3 separate regions of the Homo sapiens genome follow, and all the other regions are linked to region 3. The links are contacts of gene promoters, found by promoter capture Hi-C in blood cells and fetal thymus (Javierre and others, 2016). All regions are on one chromosome and are shown on one strand. The core of a region is centred on a gene start or on the middle of the fragment in contact, and the rest is flanking DNA. Distances in the headings are between cores, read along the strand shown.

Region 1 (3,143 bases), core at 302-2,801, 1.4 Mb after region 3:
GGGGGCTCGCAGGGCCGGTCTGACCACAGATGGAGGTTCTCGGACTGGACTTCCCAGGTCGCACACACACAATCTCAATCTCTCTCTCTCTCTCCACCAATAATGAGATCCCGAGGCAAGGAAGGCTTATTTAGGGAAAGTCAGAGTGATGAAATGAACTCTGCAAGTCTAAGAAACCCCATCTCTCAACTCCTGAGGCTGTCCTGGCCCCAACGTGCCTCACAGTCCCCAACTTAATAGAAGGCAGTTGATTCAGGCAGTGGCAGCGCAAGTGTCATCAACGCTGACACCAGTCCCAGGTGTGCGTGCGCGGCTGCCAGGGCCGCGGGGATGCTGGTGGCCGCGGGAGAGGAAAGGCTGGGCCGGGAAAGTCTTCGCTTTCTGTCTTTCCTTCTCGGATTTGCTTCAGGCACGGGACAAGTGCTCAAAAAATAGGCAGAGACGGTGGGCAGGAGGGTGAAAGATGGAAAACGAGAGTCTGGATGGAAAATGAGTTTTCACAATTCCTACTTTCCCGGGGGAAAGTTAGAATCGAATCTGTTTAACTCTTTCCAATCGTAATATAATCAGAAAAGGGACAATCCTTAACTTCGACGCCAATCCATTCGTAAGATAATGACAGGAAAGTATGATCAGGGTGTGGATGTTTCCTGCTGCATAGTGAGGAAGGATGCCCAATTCCAAAGGAATCCTGAAGCGTCAGAAAGAACCGCTCCTTTTCCCACCCCAATCGACCATGCCCGCGGTGCCCACCCCCCTTTGCTTACCCTGCGGTGGCCGCCACCGAGGTCGCCGACGAAGTTGCGGACGTGAGCCATGTATTGGGTGAACTTCTCCTGGTACCTGCGCGCCGTGAGCTGCACCTCGCCCTGCAGCGCCCAGAGCTGCGCCAGCAGCGCCTTCTCGCGCCGCCTCCAGGCGAGGACCCGAGGCCCGGGTCCCCGCCCGCGGCCCCAGCGGCCGCCCGGCGGCCCCCCGCGCGCGCCCCCGCCCCGGCCAGCCCTGGGTGTCGGACCGCAGCCCCCCCGCGCGGGCACCTCACCACCGCCCAGCCCCGAAGCGCAGCCCCCGCGGCTGCGGAGCCGGCGGGCAGGGCCGAAGTCGCAGTGCTCGACGTGCGCCTCCAGCTCGTGCAGCCTGACCGAGTGGCCGCAGCCGCGGGCGCGGTAGTCGCACTGGACTCGCAGCTTCTGGATGAGGCTGCGCAGCGGCAGCACCCGGTACAGCTCGCCGGGCGCCAAGGGCTGGCACTGCAGCGGGCACCGGCGCCTCCGCACCGCCCAGGGCAACAGGCAGCTGGCGCAGAAGACGTGCCCGCACGGCGTGCACAGGGGCTCTTCAAGCACCTGGCCGCACAGTTTGCACTCCAGAGCCGGGTCCACGGCTTCTGCGAAGCGCTCCAGGGCAAAGCCCATGTTAGGGATGGGGAAGAAAGGGGGAGCGAAAGCAGAGTCCGTCTTCTCCGAGCCCCCCTGCCTTCCCCGGGCCACCCCCGGGGCAGCCGTCTCGCGGCGGCGGCAGTGGAGGGAGGTGGCGGGTGGGAGGTGTGATCTCACTGTTTGTTTGGCTTGAAGTTTTCAGGCTCCTGCTAGGTCCCCTGATTTCGCCCGTATTGACGCTAATAGAAGTAACCTCCAGAGACCCCCGCCTCCTTCGTTGCCCTGCGATTTATGTTCTTTCAAATTTTGGCCGCCCAGCTTACAATGGTCCTTGGGAACACTGTGTTCTCCTTCGCCTGAACAGTGAACTTCAAGCATCGAGGCGCCTCGCCCTGGGCAGGGCTGCTGATGGGTAAAGCGCTAATGTTGAGAAACAACTTTTAAATTCACCACAATGTAAGCTTCGGGAGAGCAGAATCTTTTTGTCTGTCTGGTTTTCCGCTGAATGCCCATGGCCCGCCCGGCGTCGAGTCTATCTCCAATATGTTTGAAATCGAAGCACTTTTGTTCTTTCACATCAAAACTACAAAATCAGAAGTTAGGAAACTGTGACCTTAGGAAATCACTATAAGGAAAATAACACTAGGAAATCCACAGGGCCAGGCTTCTCAAACCGTGATCCAGAAATCAGGTGAGTTAGAATGGCGCGATCCTTGACCTAGCAGCAAAGATGGGGAAAAAGTCAAGGGCCCGCCTCAGGACACTGCCTTCTTAGGGAGCCCATGAACAGCCATGCAAGGCCTCCTCCCGAGTGAGGAAGCTGGGATTCTGAGTCTGACTCCAGGTTCAGTTGCCACAGCATCCATCTTCTACTTCCACGGGCGTTTTACTACTGGGGACGGGAATGTGATCATTTGGGAACCTGGAAGGGAAAATTAAAGGGAAGGATGATGAAAGAAAGCAGTGAAATAACATATAAATAAAATCTTAGTGGCTGCTTCCTTCTACTTACCCTGAATGAACCCTTTGGATCCAAATTGCCTCCCCTCCTAGTTTGACTCCTCAAATTGTGTAGCATGACAAGCCGTCCTGAAAACACGCAGTAGGGCGTCATTCCAAACCCTTCTTACTCCACTTCCTTTACCATCTTCTGAACCTTAGGAATGCAGAGATCCTGTCACCTGGCTGCATATCACTTACTGCCATTATCCTGAAGCTGCCACCAGATGCTTGGGTGGGTTTTATAAATTAATCATTGATGATTCCTTGCTGCCAGTTGAGCCTTGTTCCTGGAAAGCTTGTAATTCTCTATGACACCAAATGGCATCAGTTGGAATTGATGAGAACAGCTCCAGACTTTGTCTTTTAAATCCTTGGAGCTAACTGAAGAATTAGCAAAGACTAATAATAGAGGCTAATAACCTTCTGAGCCTTCTTGCTGTTTGAAAGATGAGATTTTGTTAGTTGTTCAATAACCAGTGATGATTGGTGTGCTAGATGTTTGATATGCTTTTAAACTCTTTTTCAAAATAAGATGCTATATTTCTCATTTAATATATATAGATTCATATGTGATAAAGTAACATTTGCCCCTATGTTCCAAATTTCCCCCCTCTTTCGACCTGTCTTTCTACAAATAAATAAGCAAACAATGAATTACTGATTAAATAAGAAATCATTTAATATTAACAGCATGAAAATATTTTTGTGAATTGCATAAACTGGAAATACATGTTCTAGAATTTATTAAAATACTTCTGGGCA
Region 2 (3,385 bases), core at 100-2,599, 1.3 Mb after region 3:
CAGTGATTCAGTAAACAGGAAGGGAATTAATCTTTAACTGTCTTCAGATATTTCAAGGGTGTATACTTCATGAACACACCAGGCAAAGTTTGAGCCAGGGAATGCTAGCTATGATAGATTTGGCAAAATATAAGAAAACTTTTCCTAATGGAATCATCTGAAGAAGAAGCAGGCTGTCTTGGGAGATCTGCTCTCCACCATGGATTCAGGTATTTCAGTAGTGTCTAGGGATACAAGAGGTAGAGATAATGTCAATGTTACATAGACTTTAGTTGGTATTTAAAAATGGCTTCTAATATCCCTGAGCATCTATGGTACTATATTTGCTTCCAAAATATTTTCTAATTCGGAACTTTCATTAATTCAGGCAATCCTTCTCTCTAGCTTAAACTAGGAAGTGTTCACTAAACATAGAAACAAGCTCAGCATTTTAAGCGTTTTCCATTTATAATGATCAACTCTATATATTCCTTCAAATTGCACCTTTGTGCCATATCTATTTAAATTTTGAAAGATTTATTATTTTAAATAATGCTTGGTATGAAAGAGGTTATATAGTCAAAGATTTTAACTACACAATACACAGAGTGGTTATTAATAAAACATATTTCTGTTCTGTTTTTTTAAAAACCCTGACATTTTCAAAAGGAAAATACCAGCTTTACACACACTCATTAGGATGACCTACTTTTTGACATGTGGCTACAATTTATTCTACCACTTATTGGTGAGGTAGTTATCCCAGTACAAAATGAAAAAAATATATAATGTCCTTACTTAAAAAGTTATATGAACTTAACTTAAATGCCATGTCCCACATAGAAGAAGGCAAGACCCCTTTTATGACAAAGTAAAGACAAAATGAACCCCATATTTCTATGGTTGCTGACCAAGCTTGCATTCAAGGACTTTAGATCTTGATGCATTAAGAAAAATGATAAATGATAATGGGATGACATTAAGGCATAATTGCTGAACTAGTTCTTTGGCATCTGCTGCCATGAAGGTAAATTTAATGATAAATAGCATACATTTGGTAATTTTCTACTATAATAAGACATGTTTGCAAATCAACCATAGTTTTTGCAGGTAAACCTGAAAACATATTTTATCAATTAAAAATAAGATTTTATGTTCAGTCATTTTTTAGGTATTATAAAAATTCCTAAAATTGCTAATTTCTGACTGAATATACTTTTTCTTTAATGAAACACTTCATTTATTGGTTTCTACATCATTTATAGAGTAGTGTCAAAACTTCCAAGCATACAAGTTCCTTACTAGCTTCACCCTTTATCACTTCCCCCATCTCTGGGAGATGCCCTATATGTAAGTTACAGTTAAGGCTACTTGTAGTTTCTATCACGCTATACTGTTTCATTCTCTGTCCTGAATTCACTGTTTCTTCTTTTCAGAATACATTTTTCTTCTTTAAGCGTCTGGGGAACTGCATTTTCAGATTTGGTTATAATGACTTTCATGACACTCTCCACAACCAGGTTTGATCATTCTTGCGCTTGCCAGCATACTGTCTTATGCAATCTTCCATTACTGTACTTATGAAACTGGATTATAACTTGCTTTCCTTCTATGTCTATTTCCTTCTTTAGGAACACTTTGGAAGAAGAAACTGAGCCTCTTTGATATTTCTATCCATAGTGCCTAACATTACTTTATTAAAATGTACATTTTTGAATGAATAAAATTGATCCAAATGGATAGTCAACACTTTATTCATTTTCCATACCCATGATTGCTTAAATTTAACATAAGCAGACTACTAAATGAAGCCCAGACAAGCTTAAGCAAAACAACAAGGAAATGCGCCTTTTAGGAACTGCCAAGACTATAGTTCTCATTGATTGCAGAATTCAATTTCCTCCTAAATATTTTGATTATTAGGACTTCAATGTGACTTCTGGAAATTCAGAGTTACAACCAACAGCATCTATTTTGCTGTTCTCCCACCTGGACAGCAACTTAACCAACTCATCCCATGGTCACTCTAAAGGCCTTTAATTGACAATTCGATGCCACAAAGGGGAAAGAAAACAAAGCACTTTCTAAGTAAATATGTTATTATAAAATAAAGATAGAAATGTTTTTCAAGCTTGGCAAATATTTTTATAACTTTTGAACTGCCGATAAAGTTTTAAATTTTTTTCTGGCAGTCTTGATACATGTGCTTTAAAAGTGTATCCATTTCTTACTAAAAGAGTCAATTATACTTACTAAACACACCAGTGCCTTTGCCTCCTGAGAAGTTAGAAATAACTGATAGTATAGGTATATATTTATTGAGGCAATTAAATCCGTGACCCTTAAAAGCAGTCTTAAGTAGCTGCAAAGATTTAATACTCATTTAATACAATAAATGGGCCATTATAGTAATGATGCTTTAAAATTAATAAGTCAAACAGGTCACTTTAGGATCAATATATTTGGTCTGTGAAGTATATTTCATACATATTCCATTTAAGAATATTTTATTTGAAGATCCTGATCTGTATGTCTCAACTGAGTTAGAAATTTTCATAACCAAAGAAAACAATATTTTTACCAGTTGACTTTAGGCTGATTCACCACATATCATTGGCACTTTGGCTTTAAAACCAGAAGAGGTTATTTATTTATGAATTTTATGTTCTTAAAGTAAATATTAGTGGAGGGAAAAAAGTAAGTAATTCATTGAATGGACATAGACAAAATCTTTGATTTTTATTGTTTATGTGAATTAAGGAAACAAGTTAAATTTTTTTTGCCATTCTTTCATTCCAAAAAAAAAAATACTCTATTTGGTAGAGAAAGGAATTGCTTTTTGAGATATTCTATATAGTAGAGGCTTATATAAACATAGAAATGATGTTGCAAAATCATTTGTTGTCTGTGCAGTATTGAAATATAAAGATCTTTTATGAGATCAAAATAATGAAAACAGGCCTGGCAGCATGTGTTTTATTTCCATATTTCAGATATTCCCTAATGATAACCACAAAGTCCTCTGAGGGGAGTGTATTTGTTTTCAATGCAATTGTAATAGAATGAAGGGAAGCTTTTGCTTACTAATGTGCTGCATTTCTAATAATTCTTTCCATCCACTTGCAAATGTGAATTGTCACCGCTGATTTATGTTCATTAATCAAAACGGCAAATGCATGTGGAGTGCAGAATCCGGGTCCAGGCTGTTGTGTGAAAAATGTGATCAATCATCACTGATTGGCATTTTGAGTTAAACTATACAAGAATGTGGAAGAACAGATGCTTGCTAGGAACAAGGGAAAGGAAGTTAGGGCCAGGAGGCTAGCATTTTAATTGGCAAGATTCAAGGTGGTTAAAACAGACTAGACCAAAAATTCTGAGTTTTGGAATAAGAGAAAATAATTAT
Region 3 (3,618 bases), core at 775-3,274:
AAGTCACTGTACAGCAATAAGATTTATTTCACCTATGGAGGTAGTGAAATTTTCTTTGGCAGTTCTGGAGGTTAGATAGAACCTAAAAGTTGATAGCTTAATAGAAGCATTTGTAACCCCAGCAAGATAAACAGACACAACTTCAAAGGCCAATTCCAATAAAATGCTGAGGGGCAAGAAAACCTGGTTTGTTCTTTCCCAGATTCTCGTCACCTGAGGTCAGGAGTTCGAGACCAGCCTGGCCAACATGGGGAAACTGTCTCTACTAAAAATACAAAAATTACCTGGGCGCGGTGGCAGGTGCCTGTAATCCCAGCTACTCGGGAGGTTGAGGAAGGAGAATCGCTTCAACACGGGGGCGGGGCGGAGGTTGCAGTGAGCGGAGATCGCGCCACTGCACTCCAGCCTGTGTGACAAGAGCGAAACTCCGTCTCAAAAAAAAAAAAAAAAAAAAAAAAAAAAAAAAACAACGCTAGCAAGTGGAATTATTTCAAAAGCAACAGCCTTGTTTCCTGAGTGATCTGAGCTCAGGAACTCTGCCTGGGCATCTAGACAGGAGAAAGTATCTACAGCGTGGGGAGATCTGAGTCAGAATTATAGAGCACAGTGCTGAAGCCATACATTTTCCTGGATTTAGACAGTTTCCTCCTCCATTTGCCTTTATTTCCTTGCATTCTCTTTTCATCGGCTCCATTTTTGCTGAGTATTCCTTTGCTTTATTCCCAACGAAAATCGAAAAGACTTGATGTTCTGAGAAATTCTGAGACTGGCAGTTTTGATTTTTCTTAAAAGGATAAAAATTGCATCAGTCAACACCTCCCTCCACACTCCCCCCACACACATCCTCATCTTCCTGGAAGATGATACAGTATCCTAGAGCGTTGTGGAGAGGATGGAGAGGTCAAGGAAGCCCTGGCTTTGCAGAGGCACCTGTCAAGTTCGGGTTAACAGCTGCCGCCTGTGTCTGCCCTCTGCAGTCCAGGGAAATAGTACCCACACGGTGAGACTCCACCGATCCGGAACTGGAGAGGGTGGGGGGTTCTAAGGTTTAGTGTGACACAAATGTCAGGGCAGAACTTTCAAACAGGCTGAGCCCCAGTTCAACGTGGGTGAGTGCGCCTGAGAGCCCAGCTCTGGGAATTGAGCAGACTGAAAATGTGGAGAGTAGTTTGGCCAGTGAAAAATTGTCACCGTGTTCGGATCAATGCTTTGAACCCGCTTTTAAGTGCGCCACGTTCACTTGGGTCAGGCTCTGGACATTGCGGTGGGCTGAGGTTTTCGCGGGCACGATCCCCCACACTGAGTTTTCATGGAGACGACCAGGGCCGTCGAGGCGGGGAAGGGAACGGACTAGAGGCTGAACTTTGGCTTCTTGCTCTGAAAGATCACTCCTCCGGTTCCGGGGCAGAGACTCAGACCAGCCTGTGGGATTACACGAGACAGGATCGAGTCCAAACGGGTCCCCAGCTCGGCAAGGCGCGCCGGAAGGAATCTAAGTGTTTAATTAACTGCCCCCTTCACACACCCCCCGAAGGAGAAGGAACTCAAATAGGCACCCCTACCCAAATCGTTTGATCAGAGGAAATTGGGTTTGTCTCTCCCCCACCCCCCACCCCGTCCCTTCACTCTTCCTGTGTTTCAGTCCATCGGGATTGTTGGTTAAAAAAAAAAAAAAAAAAAGGCTTATAATCGGGGGCGGGGCAGAGGCTCCGAGCGAGCCGCACTTGCGACTCTGGACCGCGGTTGGTGAACTTTTTTCTCCCTGCGCATAATCCGCCTGCTGCTCTGCCCCACTGGCTGCGCGTGGAGCCGGTCCCAGGCCTGCTCGCAGCCCTGCCCCCGGGCGCGGCCCGAGCCGGGCCCGACCTCGCTTTCAGGGCCGAGCCGGGGTACGCGTGGGCGCGCGCCCAGCGGCCTCGATCCCGCGGCGGCGTCCGCGCTCCGCGTTTTCGCTCGCGCCGGGCCCCGCGGCCGAGGGCGGGGTGCGCGGCGGCGCCGCAGCGCGCGGCTCCGGAGCCCGAGCGCACTCCGCCTGCAGCCCAGCTGCCAGCGCCGTCTCCCGCGGCCGCCGCCGCCCGACAGCGCGCCCGGAACATGCCAGCCTCGCGCAGCCTGCGCTGACTTCCCCGAGACGCGCCGCGGTCGGCACGGAGACTTTCTGGGCTCTGGATGGTTCGTGCGCTGCTCACCCTCGCCCACCCCTGACGCCGCGGACCGCAGCTCCTCAGCCCCGCAGCCCCGCAGCCCAGCAGCCCCGCAGCGGCGCCGAGGACAGTGCAGCCGAGTTGCGTCTCCCTCGCGCGAGGTGAGTGGCAGCCTGGATCCCGGCGGATTCCGCAGAGGGGGCTGCGGCGCGGTGGTGGGGGGCGAGCGCCGCAGGGGTAGGGCCGGGCACCTTCGCTGGCACCGCCGGAGTCTGTGACACCCAGACTGGGTCGGTGTCGCAGAAGATCAGGGAGAAGGTCATAATCGGTTTGTTGGGCTGTGTAGACAGGGAAAGCAGATATTGGCTGCAGCATCGCCAGGGCTCCGCAGAGGCTCTCCGCATGGCTCCTGTTTGCTGCATCACAACCAACTCTTCCCTTGGTTTTCTCCGGCGTGGAAACAGGTTCTGTAGCCCGAGGGTCGAGGCGATGCGGGGCGCCGGGAGGCGAGGGTGCGTTGGCGTGTTCCCGCCGCTTAGGATCGCCTGTCACCTACTGGCGTCCGGAGGGAGGGTACCGATTCTCTCCTCTAGCGCTGGGGAAAGGGGCTGGTGGCTTTTTGGCAGAGGCGAATCAACTCCCACCACTCTCCCCAACCCCCTGCCCCGCGATGGTGTTTGCTGAATGTAGCACAGATATAGGGAAAAAATGGGAGCGTCTTCCTCTCTTGAGGTAGAAAAAGTTGAAGAAACTAGGCATGTTAATAGTTATTAGGAGCGGGACTCAGGATGCAGCAGAAAGCTGTTAAATTTTCATTACCCTCTAAGAAAAACAAACGGCATCGCCAGTGACTATTGGCAGTGCTGTGTTATTCTTGGGACTTTGGGAAAATTGTTCACAGATTGTCTTCAGGAGGCTGAAGAACGAGGTTGGGGGTTGGGAGAGAGGGAGGACGGCTGCATCACGCTTAGTTCCAGCTTGCCTAAGGAGGGTTCAGGATCACAAGCCGAACGCGTTTGGTTGCTGATTTTTAAAAGGGTATCAGCGGCAGAACTGAGACCATGAACAAGGCAAACACACCACGGGAACCAGCCTAAAGGAAAAAAAAAAAGCACCAACAACTACAACCAAAAAAACATGTAAAAATCTGCCTCTCCTGCAGAGTTAACATGCATTTGTGCTATCAAATGGATGCATGTATATGTGTCTTTTAGGATAAGTTTTATGAATGACAAATCACTGAAATGGTATCTTGTATCTGTTCATGCATACAGTGTTGTCTACTGCCTCGTCTTAATCAGTACTTTGGAAGGCTGTGCCTGCAGTTGATGTTATATAATTGATGTGGTTCACCATCAGACATTTTTTAATGTACTTTAGGAGTAGAGGGAACTTCCATCTGTCTTTTCAGACAGGCCCAAGGTGTAGACTGGTGAGGGTTGCTAATGTTTGCCGTAGTCCGGCTCCAGATGTG

The links. Contacts are between HindIII fragments. The CHiCAGO score rates a contact against its expected background, and 5 or more counts as called.
Region 1: the fragment with the promoter of PDZRN4 here is called in contact with the fragment with the promoter of PRICKLE1 in region 3 in 4 of 17 cell types (M1 macrophages, fetal thymus, total B cells and 1 more); the score reaches 7.0 in M1 macrophages.
Region 2: a fragment that was not itself captured here is called in contact with the fragment with the promoter of PRICKLE1 in region 3 in 1 of 17 cell types (total B cells); the score reaches 6.2 in total B cells.

The regions. Positions count from the first base shown.
Region 1 is chr12:41,186,728-41,189,870 of GRCh38, reverse strand. It overlaps PDZRN4 (PDZ domain containing ring finger 4), which reads right to left and starts at 1,551. Exons shown (of 10, transcript NM_001164595.2): 1 at 768-1,551. The coding sequence starts at 1,415. LOC124903069 (a long non-coding RNA gene) reads left to right here and starts at 1,639. Exons shown (of 2, transcript XR_007063563.1): 1 at 1,639-2,070; 2 at 2,541-3,143. The HindIII fragment of the contact is 2,373 bases long and covers 1-1,842 here.
Region 2 is chr12:41,271,462-41,274,846 of GRCh38, reverse strand. All of the region lies in intron 3 of PDZRN4 (PDZ domain containing ring finger 4), which reads right to left. Among named protein-coding and RNA genes, the nearest start is that of PDZRN4, 85 kb to the right of the region's middle. The HindIII fragment of the contact is 906 bases long and covers 897-1,802 here.
Region 3 is chr12:42,588,152-42,591,769 of GRCh38, reverse strand. It overlaps PRICKLE1 (prickle planar cell polarity protein 1), which reads left to right and starts at 2,024. Exons shown (of 8, transcript NM_153026.3): 1 at 2,024-2,305. RefSeq lists an enhancer at 744-1,301 and a silencer at 1,771-2,020. The HindIII fragment of the contact is 6,666 bases long and covers 1-3,618 here.